Linked DNA regions of Homo sapiens: region 1 is linked to region 2. The links are contacts of gene promoters, found by promoter capture Hi-C in blood cells and fetal thymus (Javierre and others, 2016). All regions are on one chromosome and are shown on one strand. Each heading gives the region's core, a stretch centred on a gene start or on the middle of the fragment in contact. The rest is flanking DNA. Distances are from core to core; before and after follow the strand shown. Region 1 holds the start of TCAF1 (TRPM8 channel associated factor 1). Region 2 holds the start of GSTK1 (glutathione S-transferase kappa 1).

Region 1 (4,257 bases), core at 956-3,455, 640 kb before region 2:
TCTGCCCTCCAATCTCAGGCTAGGCCTATGTAGTTTTGAGGGGAGACTAGATTTGCAGGGAAATGAGGAGAGAACACACAACTTGGAGATTTGAAGAGCAAAGGAGACAAGGGCCAAGGAAATCATGGAAGAAGTCTGGAAGGATCTGTCCATTCTCTGGTAATGGTGAACATTCACATAGGGTTTTCCATGTGCCAGACACTGCTTTAAGAGCTTTATCTGTATTAAGTCATTTAATCTTCATAAAAATTCCATGAAGTAGAGACAATTATTATCCCCAATGTTACAGATGAAAACACTAAGATAGAAGTTAACAAGCCCTCTGTGATAGGCAGAAAAATAGCTCCCTAAAGATGTTGATATGGTTTGGCTATGTGCCCCCACCCAAATCTCATCTTGCAGCTCCCATAATTCCCACGTGTTATGGGAGGGATCTGGTGGGAGATGATTGAATCATGGGGGTGGGTCTTTCCCCAACCGTTCTCATGATAGTGGAGAGGTCGCAGGAGATCCGATGGTTTTAAAAACGGCAGTTTCCCTGAACAAGCTGTCTCTTTGCCTGCCGCCATCCACATAAGATGTGACTTGCTTCTCCTTGCCTTCTGCCATGATTGTGAGGCCTCCCCAACCACGTGAAACTGTGAGTCCAATTAAACCTCTTTCTTTTGTAAATTGCCCAGTCTGGGGAATGTCTTTATCTGCAGTGTGAAAATGGATTAATACAGATGTCCAGATCCTAATTCCCAGAATTTGTGATACGCAATGCTACATGGCAAGGGAGAATTAAGGTTGCAGACAGAATGAAGGCTGCTAATTAGCTGACCTTGAGATGGGAAATTATCTAGATTATCTGGATAGGCACAATGTAATCACAAGGTCCTTCTAAGTGAAAGAAGGAAGCAGGAGACTCAAAGAAGGAGATGTGACACAGAAGCAGAGGCTGGAGCCATGAGATTGCTGACTTTGAAGATGAAGGAAAGGGCTGCAAGCCAGGGAATGCGGGAGCCTCTGGAAGCTGGAAAAAGCAAGGAAAATAGATTTGTCCCTAGATCCTGCAAAGAGAAACACATCCCTGCCTACACCTGGATGATAGCCCAGTGAGACCTGTGCTGGACTTCCAGGACCTACAGTCCTGGAAGATAGTAGTAAATCTGTGTTGTTTTAAGCCACTAAATGTGTGAAAATTTATCACAGCAGCCTTAGCAATGAATACACTGCCCAACTTGTAAGCAGAGGATGTGGTGGCTTCAAAGTCCAGGCTTTTTCCCTGCTACTCCTTTCTTTCTTTCCTCCCTCATGCCCAATATCTGTCATCTGTTGATTGGTTAGTAACATTCTCAACGCCTTACTGTTTTATTAAACTTATAAAAACAATGTATTGGTTTAAAAAAAAACAATTCAGTGGTTGTGAAGGTAAGAATCAATAGACAATTTCTCCACCGTTAGCCCCGCCTCTTATAGAAGCACATGCAGCATGTCTTCTTCATACACGAATGTAATGCTAAAGCTGATGCAGTGGCTCAGGCCTGTGATCCCAGCACTTTGGGAGGCCGAGGCGGGAGGATCACTTGAGCCCTGGCGTTCGAGACCAGCCTGGGCAACAAAGTAAAACCCTGTCTCTAACAAAAAATCAAAAAGTTAGCTGGGCGTGGTGGCGGCGCACTTGTGGTCCCAGCCTCTGAGGTGGAAGGATCGCTTGAGCCTGGGAGGTTGAAGCTGCAGTGAGCTGTGATGGCACCACTGCACTCCAGCCTGGGTGGCAGAAGCAGACCCTCCCCCTGGAGGGGAGGGGAGGGGAGGGGAGGGGAGGGGAGGGGAGGGGAGGGGGAAAGAGAGATCCTACTCTCCATTTTAATACAACTTGCTTTTTTAATTAAAAACTATAGCTAGAACCGATAGATTTCACTCGTCCTTAAAAATAGTCCTGTATTATTTTATATAAACATCTCTCGCTATTTATCAAGGCCGTCACTTGTTCAGAAGTATTCTCACTTTTGTTTTGTTTTGTTTTGTTCTTAACAATTTGCTCCCTATATTCCTGGGCTGGCGCCTAGGCCTGCATCCGGGATTTGGCGCCACATCTGCGGGCAGGGCCTCTGAGGTCTAGGGGAGGGACGGCGCCGGCCAAGTCCCGCCCCCGTCCGCGTCGACCAATCAGCTCCCTGGAAGGCCCCTCCTCACCACCCCCCACCCCCGCAGTCTCCGCCTAAGACTTTCCAAGTCCTGTAGTTTCGAGCCCGCTGCCCTTTGCCTCCTGGGCGGAGAAGCTGCTTCCTCCTGGGAACAACCGCCTCCCGCTCCTAGCAGGTTGCTACTGCCCCGAACCCGCGCTGCAGGGAACAGCGGGGCAAACAGTGAGTGGGGTTCAGCGTAGACTCTGGACCAGGAGAGGCCCGCGGTGACCGAGGCCTGGGCCCCGGGTTAGTGTCCGGGGCGGGGAGCGGTGGGCGGGGTGCGACGTTTAGCGTCTGGGGAGGGCCGGGCGTGGATTGCGGCCTCTGCGCGCGCCCCCAGGTGATAGAGCCGTTCCACCGAGGATCCCTTCCTTCGTCTCTACCCCGTTGATGATTTTTCTCTGCAGCTCGGTGCCTATTTCATTCTCGCCGCATTGTTATGCCCTCTGCTGGGCAGGAGGCGATGACCCCCCCTATTTTCGTAGGATTTGTTTTTTGCTCCGCAAGGAGCCATTAAGATCTGAGCTAGCAGGAACCCTCGAGGCGATTTGATCTCGCCAGCTGGGGGCTTGCATTCTTCTAGGCTAGCTTGTCTCCGTTAAGCCCAGGTGGAAGTTCTCATCCACCCCAGTGCTCTAGGCGCCCACGGGCGCAGTGTGGGTTTGTGGTGGGGGAAGGGACCTGGGGAGGGGTGGCGGTGAGAGCGGCGCGGGGATTCAGGCTGAATGTTAGTCTGGAATGCATTTGGCCTGAAGCAGCAAGTGCTGGGTGATACAGTTCCCTGGTAAACAGCCGAGAGCTGGCCGCTAGTTTGGCCCAACCTGCAACGGAAGAAGGCCTTAAGTACAGGAGAAAAAGATCTTTGCCAATTGGATAATCATGGAAATTTAGAAGAAGTACAGCTCGAACTAGACGTAAAGGACAGAATGTGTCTGTCTAGCTGACCAGCCAACCATCGGTCCATCACTTTCATCCTCCAAACTAGTGATTTGTTGATGAATTGGTTTCAATACTTTGTTTTAAAATGTTGAATAAAAAGTAAATGAAATATCTCAGAATGGTCTAAAAAATAATGAAACGAATGCCTGACCATCTCCTTGGGTCAAGAAATAGGGCGTCACAGTACCTTAGAAGCCCATGAGTCCCAACTGATGCCCATGGTCCATTCTCCTCCATTCTCTGAGATGTGACATCTTTCGTGATTTTTGTCTTAATTTAATGAATCCCTTGCTTTTCTTTTTAGTTTTACCATATTTGTGTGTGTATTCCTAAAACATATGTATTGGCTTTCTCATTATAATGACATTATATTAATGACATTATCCTGTACGTATTCTTAAGTTTTATAGATTCATCTTTCATGCTTCCTTCCATTTTCGTTTTCGTCATTTAAGGTGTAAATGTACATAATTTATCCATTCTACTGCTGATGGACATTGGATTGTTTCTACTTTTGGAGGTGTATGATTTATCTATAAGCTATGTAACAAATTACCCCAACACCTAGCAGCTTCAAACCAAAGCGAACAAACAAAACAAGTCCTGTTACCTCCTATCTTACAGTTTCTGTGATCAGGAATCCAGGAGGGGCTTAGCTGGGAGTCTCTGACTCAGGGTCTCTCACAAGCTGTATCAACAATCAAGGTATTGACTGGGCCTCAGTCATCTCAAGGCTAGGCGTAGGGTCGAGGACCTCTCCCAGGCTTACTCACATGACTGCTGGCAGGCCGATTGGCCTCACTGACCCTGGCTGTACACATCAGTTCTTTGCCACATGGGCCTCTGTATAAAGAATGGTTGCAACATGGCAGCTTACTCCCCCCAGAGAGAAGGCTCCCACAGAGAAAAAGAGAAAGACAGAAGTCAGATTCTTTCTGTAACCTCAGAAGCGACATCCCATTATTTTTGCCATTTTATATTCATTAGAAGTGAGTCCCTAGGCCCAACTCACACTGAAGGGAAGGGGGTGACACAAGGACATGAACACCTGGAGGCAGGGATTATCGGGGCCACTTTAAAGCCTGCCCATGTCCTCTAATATTCAAGTACACTTGTGTGGGAGCTTCCCTAGAGTATATAGCTG
Region 2 (3,992 bases), core at 3-2,502:
ATCCCACTCTCTTCACCTTTTTCAAGCATCACAGACAAGAAATCCTTGGGGAAGTGGATGGGAATCTGGAGATGGTGTCTCAGGAGCTTTAAGTCATTTGCCATGTATAGTCCTTTGCGGGGAAGCAGACCTGGAGGCTTGTTTCCTGCCAGGAGAAGGTTGGGCACGCTAAGTGAGAAAAGACCTAAGGGTCCCAGGTTTGGGGACCTCGACGTGGGTTTTGGGCAGAGGGCAGCTTCCTTTTTTTTCTCTTGTTGTTTCGCTCTTGTTGCCCAGGCTGGAGTGCAATGGTGCGATCTCAGCTCACCGCAACCTCCGCCTCCTGGGTTCAAGCGATTCTCCCGCCTCAGCCTCCCGAGTAGCTGTGGTATACAGGCATGCACTACCACGCCCGGCTAATTTTGTATTTTTAGTAGAGACGGGGCAGAGGGCAGCTTTCTGGCTGCCAGTGCCAATATAAGGACCCGCTGGGGTCGGCTCTCTTGGGCCACTGAGATCACCCCTGCCCCGACCCTCCCTTCCTACCACTGTCTTTCATGATCCCTGTTATGAGGCTGGGCCGCAACTGCAGGTTGATGTTCCAGATATTCTGATACCGGCACAGGATCTGCGGGCAGAGGTCAAGAACGATTGCCAGTGTGCAAGATGGAAAAGTGAAAGAGCCGAGGGAAAGGGAAGGGAGGCGCTAAGTGCAGAGCAGGGGTTATGCGGACACCCTACATTGTTTGGTTTGAAATTGGCAAAACTCTCCTCACTACTAGAAATCTATTCCAGGATCTTCGCTCCTGTGGCCAGTTTTCCCCAAAACTGCCATCGTTGGGCTAAGAGGTGGCCGTGTTCTGCATTTCTCCCTGAATGTTTGGAGCCGCCCCTCTTTCCACCACCGTGGGAAACTGCAGTCGGGATATAAAGGCTCGGGTTGGAGCCAGCGACTCTATTCCGTTTAAAAGCACAAAGTGACCTTCAGCCCCGGAGCTCTCCCTGCTTGCCTTAACCCCTTGGGCGGCGCCAGGAGTTACACGAGACCTCTGTCCCGGAGCCCTGCGCTCACTCTTCCCTCCGCCCTCACTCCCCAGACACTGCCGAGGCGACCCCTCCCAGCGTCACCTCGAAGCCCAGCCAGGAGTAGGGGGACAGCACGTCATAGAAGAGCTCCACGGTGCGCGGCAGGGGCCCCATGCTGCAGGCTCCGGAAGAGCAGTGGCAGCAGGAGCTCCTTTTCCCGGAACCCGGCAGAGGCTGCCCAGCTTCTGGGCCTGCCTGGGACCGCCCACCGCCTTAGCGCGCAGCCTCAGAGAGAAACTGCCCTGGTAGAGGTCCACCTCCGGCGCAGCGGGGCAGGGCCAGCCTACGGCCCCCAGCCAGGGGCGGGGTGGGTAGGGACCCCTTGGGGAGCGCGCAGGTGTGGACAAGGGGCGCTGCAATCGCCTTTGCAAAAATTTTAACAGTGAGAAAATTACGAAGGTGAAACAGATCTGAACTCACCAACTCCATCGTGCCTTTAACCTCCAAACTGCCCTTGGTCATTCCTGAGCATGGGACGAGCTAATATAGGGAGAAATTTAGTTTATAGTTTAAATGATAATAGCCCTTCCCCAAACTAAACCAGTTTTATAAAACTAATAAAAGTCCACAAGTTTAGGATTATGAGAGGGGCCTGAATTCTGCTAAGATGTAGGCATTAACAATTACCAGACATTGTTCCAGAGGTCACAAGCTCTGCAACTTCCCCAATTATTCCTGTAAATAACCACTTTTGTAGAACCTAAGACTGGCCTTTGAAGATACCTTCTCAGACTTTTCCATTTCTAATGACAGGATGACTCCACCTGGACCAGTGACTCCTCTGTGGCCCGCATCCAAATGCAACTCGGTGCACTGAGGACGGTTTTCCACACCCCTGTGATTGCATCCCCAACCAATTAGCAGCACCCATTCTCTAGCCCCTTGCCCATCAAACTATCATTAAAAAACTCTAGCCGGCGGGCATGGTGGCTCACGCCTGTAATCCCAGCACTTTGGGAGGCTGAGGTGGGTGGATCACTTGAGGTCAGGAGTTCAAGACCACTCTGGCCCACATGGTGAAACCCTGTCTCTACTAAAAATGCAAAAATTAGCCGGGCATGGTGGCATGTGCCTGTAATCCCAGTTACTCGGGGGGCTGAGTCAGGAGAATTGCTTGAATCCGGGAGGCAGAGGTTGCAGTGAGCCGAGATCATGCCACTGCACTCCAGCCTGGGTGACATAGCAAGACTCCCTCTCAAAAGAAAAACAAAAACAAAAACAAAAAAACCCACAAAGTCCCCTAGCCTCTGCCTCCGAATTTTGGGAGGCTAATTTGAGTAATAATAAAACTCTGGTCTCCTGTTTAGCTGGCTCTATGTGTATTAAACTCTTTCTCTATTGCAATTCCCTTGTCTTGATAAATTAGCCCCATCTGGGTAATGGGCAAGATGAACCCATTGGGCTGGTGTCAGGGTGACTGTCCTGCTCTGCAGTGGAGTCTTGTGGGAAGGGGGTAGTTTGAGATGCCTGCAGTGCCTTTCACTTAGCTGTGCCCCTTGGGTGAGCCACTTGACCTCTCTGAACCTATTTCCTCATCCTGCATACACATGGGGAATATCTAATGATAACACCTGCCTTATGACGAGTTGTGAGGAATGAGGTACTCCAATAACTGCTAGCTCTTATTATTGTTGCTTGGCAGTTGCATGAATCTCCTAAACTGGGGCAGAATAAGAAGTTCTCAGAGTACACATTTTCTTGTGTTACCTTTGTCAGAGATTTGCACAATGTCTGGGACACATTTGACCATCGATACATATATTTTGAGTGAGTGAAAAAAAAGAGGGACTGGTAGAAGATGGAGAGGCCTCACTATAGATAATTTTGGTGATAATGGAAACGATTGGCCCTATTCGTTTTCACAAATATGTGAGTCATATTGTCTTATATTGGGATTACATTTACTGCAAAGAAACAGAATTTTAAAATAATTCCATTTAACTTTGTTAAAATTATTTTTAACATTACTAATTTAATAAATTGGAAAACATATAAAGATTCCACTTTTCATTTGTATCAATAAGGAAAACAACTCCAGGCTATCAGAATACAGAGATACGAGGTAAACCCCTACATGGAGAAGAGCATGCAAAATGGAATGAAAAATGATGTTATCATTACCTACTTGCAGAGTAAACTAATTGTTCAACAACCACTGAAACTAAACTTTTTTTTTTTTTGAGATGGAGTCTTGTTCTGTTGCCCAGGCTGGAGTGCAGTAGCACAATTGCAGCTCACTGCAACCTCTGCCTCCTGGGTTCAAGCAATTCTCTCTGCCTCAGCCTCCCAAGTAGCTGGGATTACAGGTGCCCACCACCACGCCCAGCTAATTTTTTGTGTGTTTTTGGTAGAGATGGGCTTTCACTATGTTGGCCAGCCTGGTCTTGAACTCCTGACCTCAGGTGATCCACCCATTTTGGCCTTCCAAAGTGCTGGGATTACAAATGTGAGCCACCACAGCCCACCTTGTTTTTTTTGAGACATGATCTCACTCTCGCTCAGACTGAAGTGCAGTGGTTCAATTTTGGCTCACTGCAACCTCTGCCCCCCAAGCTCAAGCAATTCTCCCACCTTGGCCTCCTGAGTAGCAGGGACTACAGGTGTATGTCACCACACCCAGCTAATTTTTGTTTTTTGTCGAGGTGGGGTTTCACCATGCTTCCCAGTCTGGTCTTGAATTCCTGGGCTCAAGTGATCCTCCCACCTCGGCCTCCCAAACTGCTGGGATTACAGGCATGAGCCACCATGCCCAGCTACATTTTTGTTTTTCTCCAGTAATCATAATTTTAAAGTGTCCAAGAGCTAATTCAGCGTGGTAATTTAAGGTTTCATTTCAAAGGTAGATCAATCACTTATTTTAAAAAGCTTTTTATATTTGGAAATGTTTTAGATTTATAGAAGACTTGTAAAGATAGTACAAGGTTTCT

What was found. The method cuts DNA at HindIII sites, captures the fragments that hold promoters and counts their contacts. A CHiCAGO score of 5 or more calls a contact.
Region 1: the fragment with the promoter of TCAF1 here is called in contact with the fragment with the promoter of GSTK1 in region 2 in 1 of 17 cell types (neutrophils); the score reaches 5.7 in neutrophils.

The regions. Positions count from the first base shown.
Region 1 is chr7:143,900,124-143,904,380 of GRCh38, reverse strand. TCAF1 (TRPM8 channel associated factor 1) reads left to right here and starts at 2,205. Exons shown (of 9, transcript NM_014719.3): 1 at 2,205-2,420. It overlaps LOC105375549 (a long non-coding RNA gene), which reads right to left. Exons shown (of 3, transcript XR_007060574.1): 3 at 2,428-4,257. RefSeq lists a silencer at 2,045-2,184 and enhancers at 2,975-3,024, 2,700-3,237. The HindIII fragment of the contact is 7,751 bases long and covers 1-4,257 here.
Region 2 is chr7:143,260,701-143,264,692 of GRCh38, reverse strand. It overlaps GSTK1 (glutathione S-transferase kappa 1), which reads right to left and starts at 1,252. Exons shown (of 8, transcript NM_015917.3): 1 at 1,108-1,252; 2 at 526-607; 3 at 17-145. The coding sequence starts at 1,179. All of the region lies in intron 2 of TMEM139-AS1 (TMEM139 antisense RNA 1), which reads left to right. It overlaps LOC105375546 (a long non-coding RNA gene), which reads right to left. Exons shown (of 3, transcript XR_007060569.1): 3 at 1,486-1,545. RefSeq lists enhancers at 1,005-1,224, 1,043-1,337 and a silencer at 1,365-1,434. The HindIII fragment of the contact is 19,965 bases long and covers 1-3,932 here.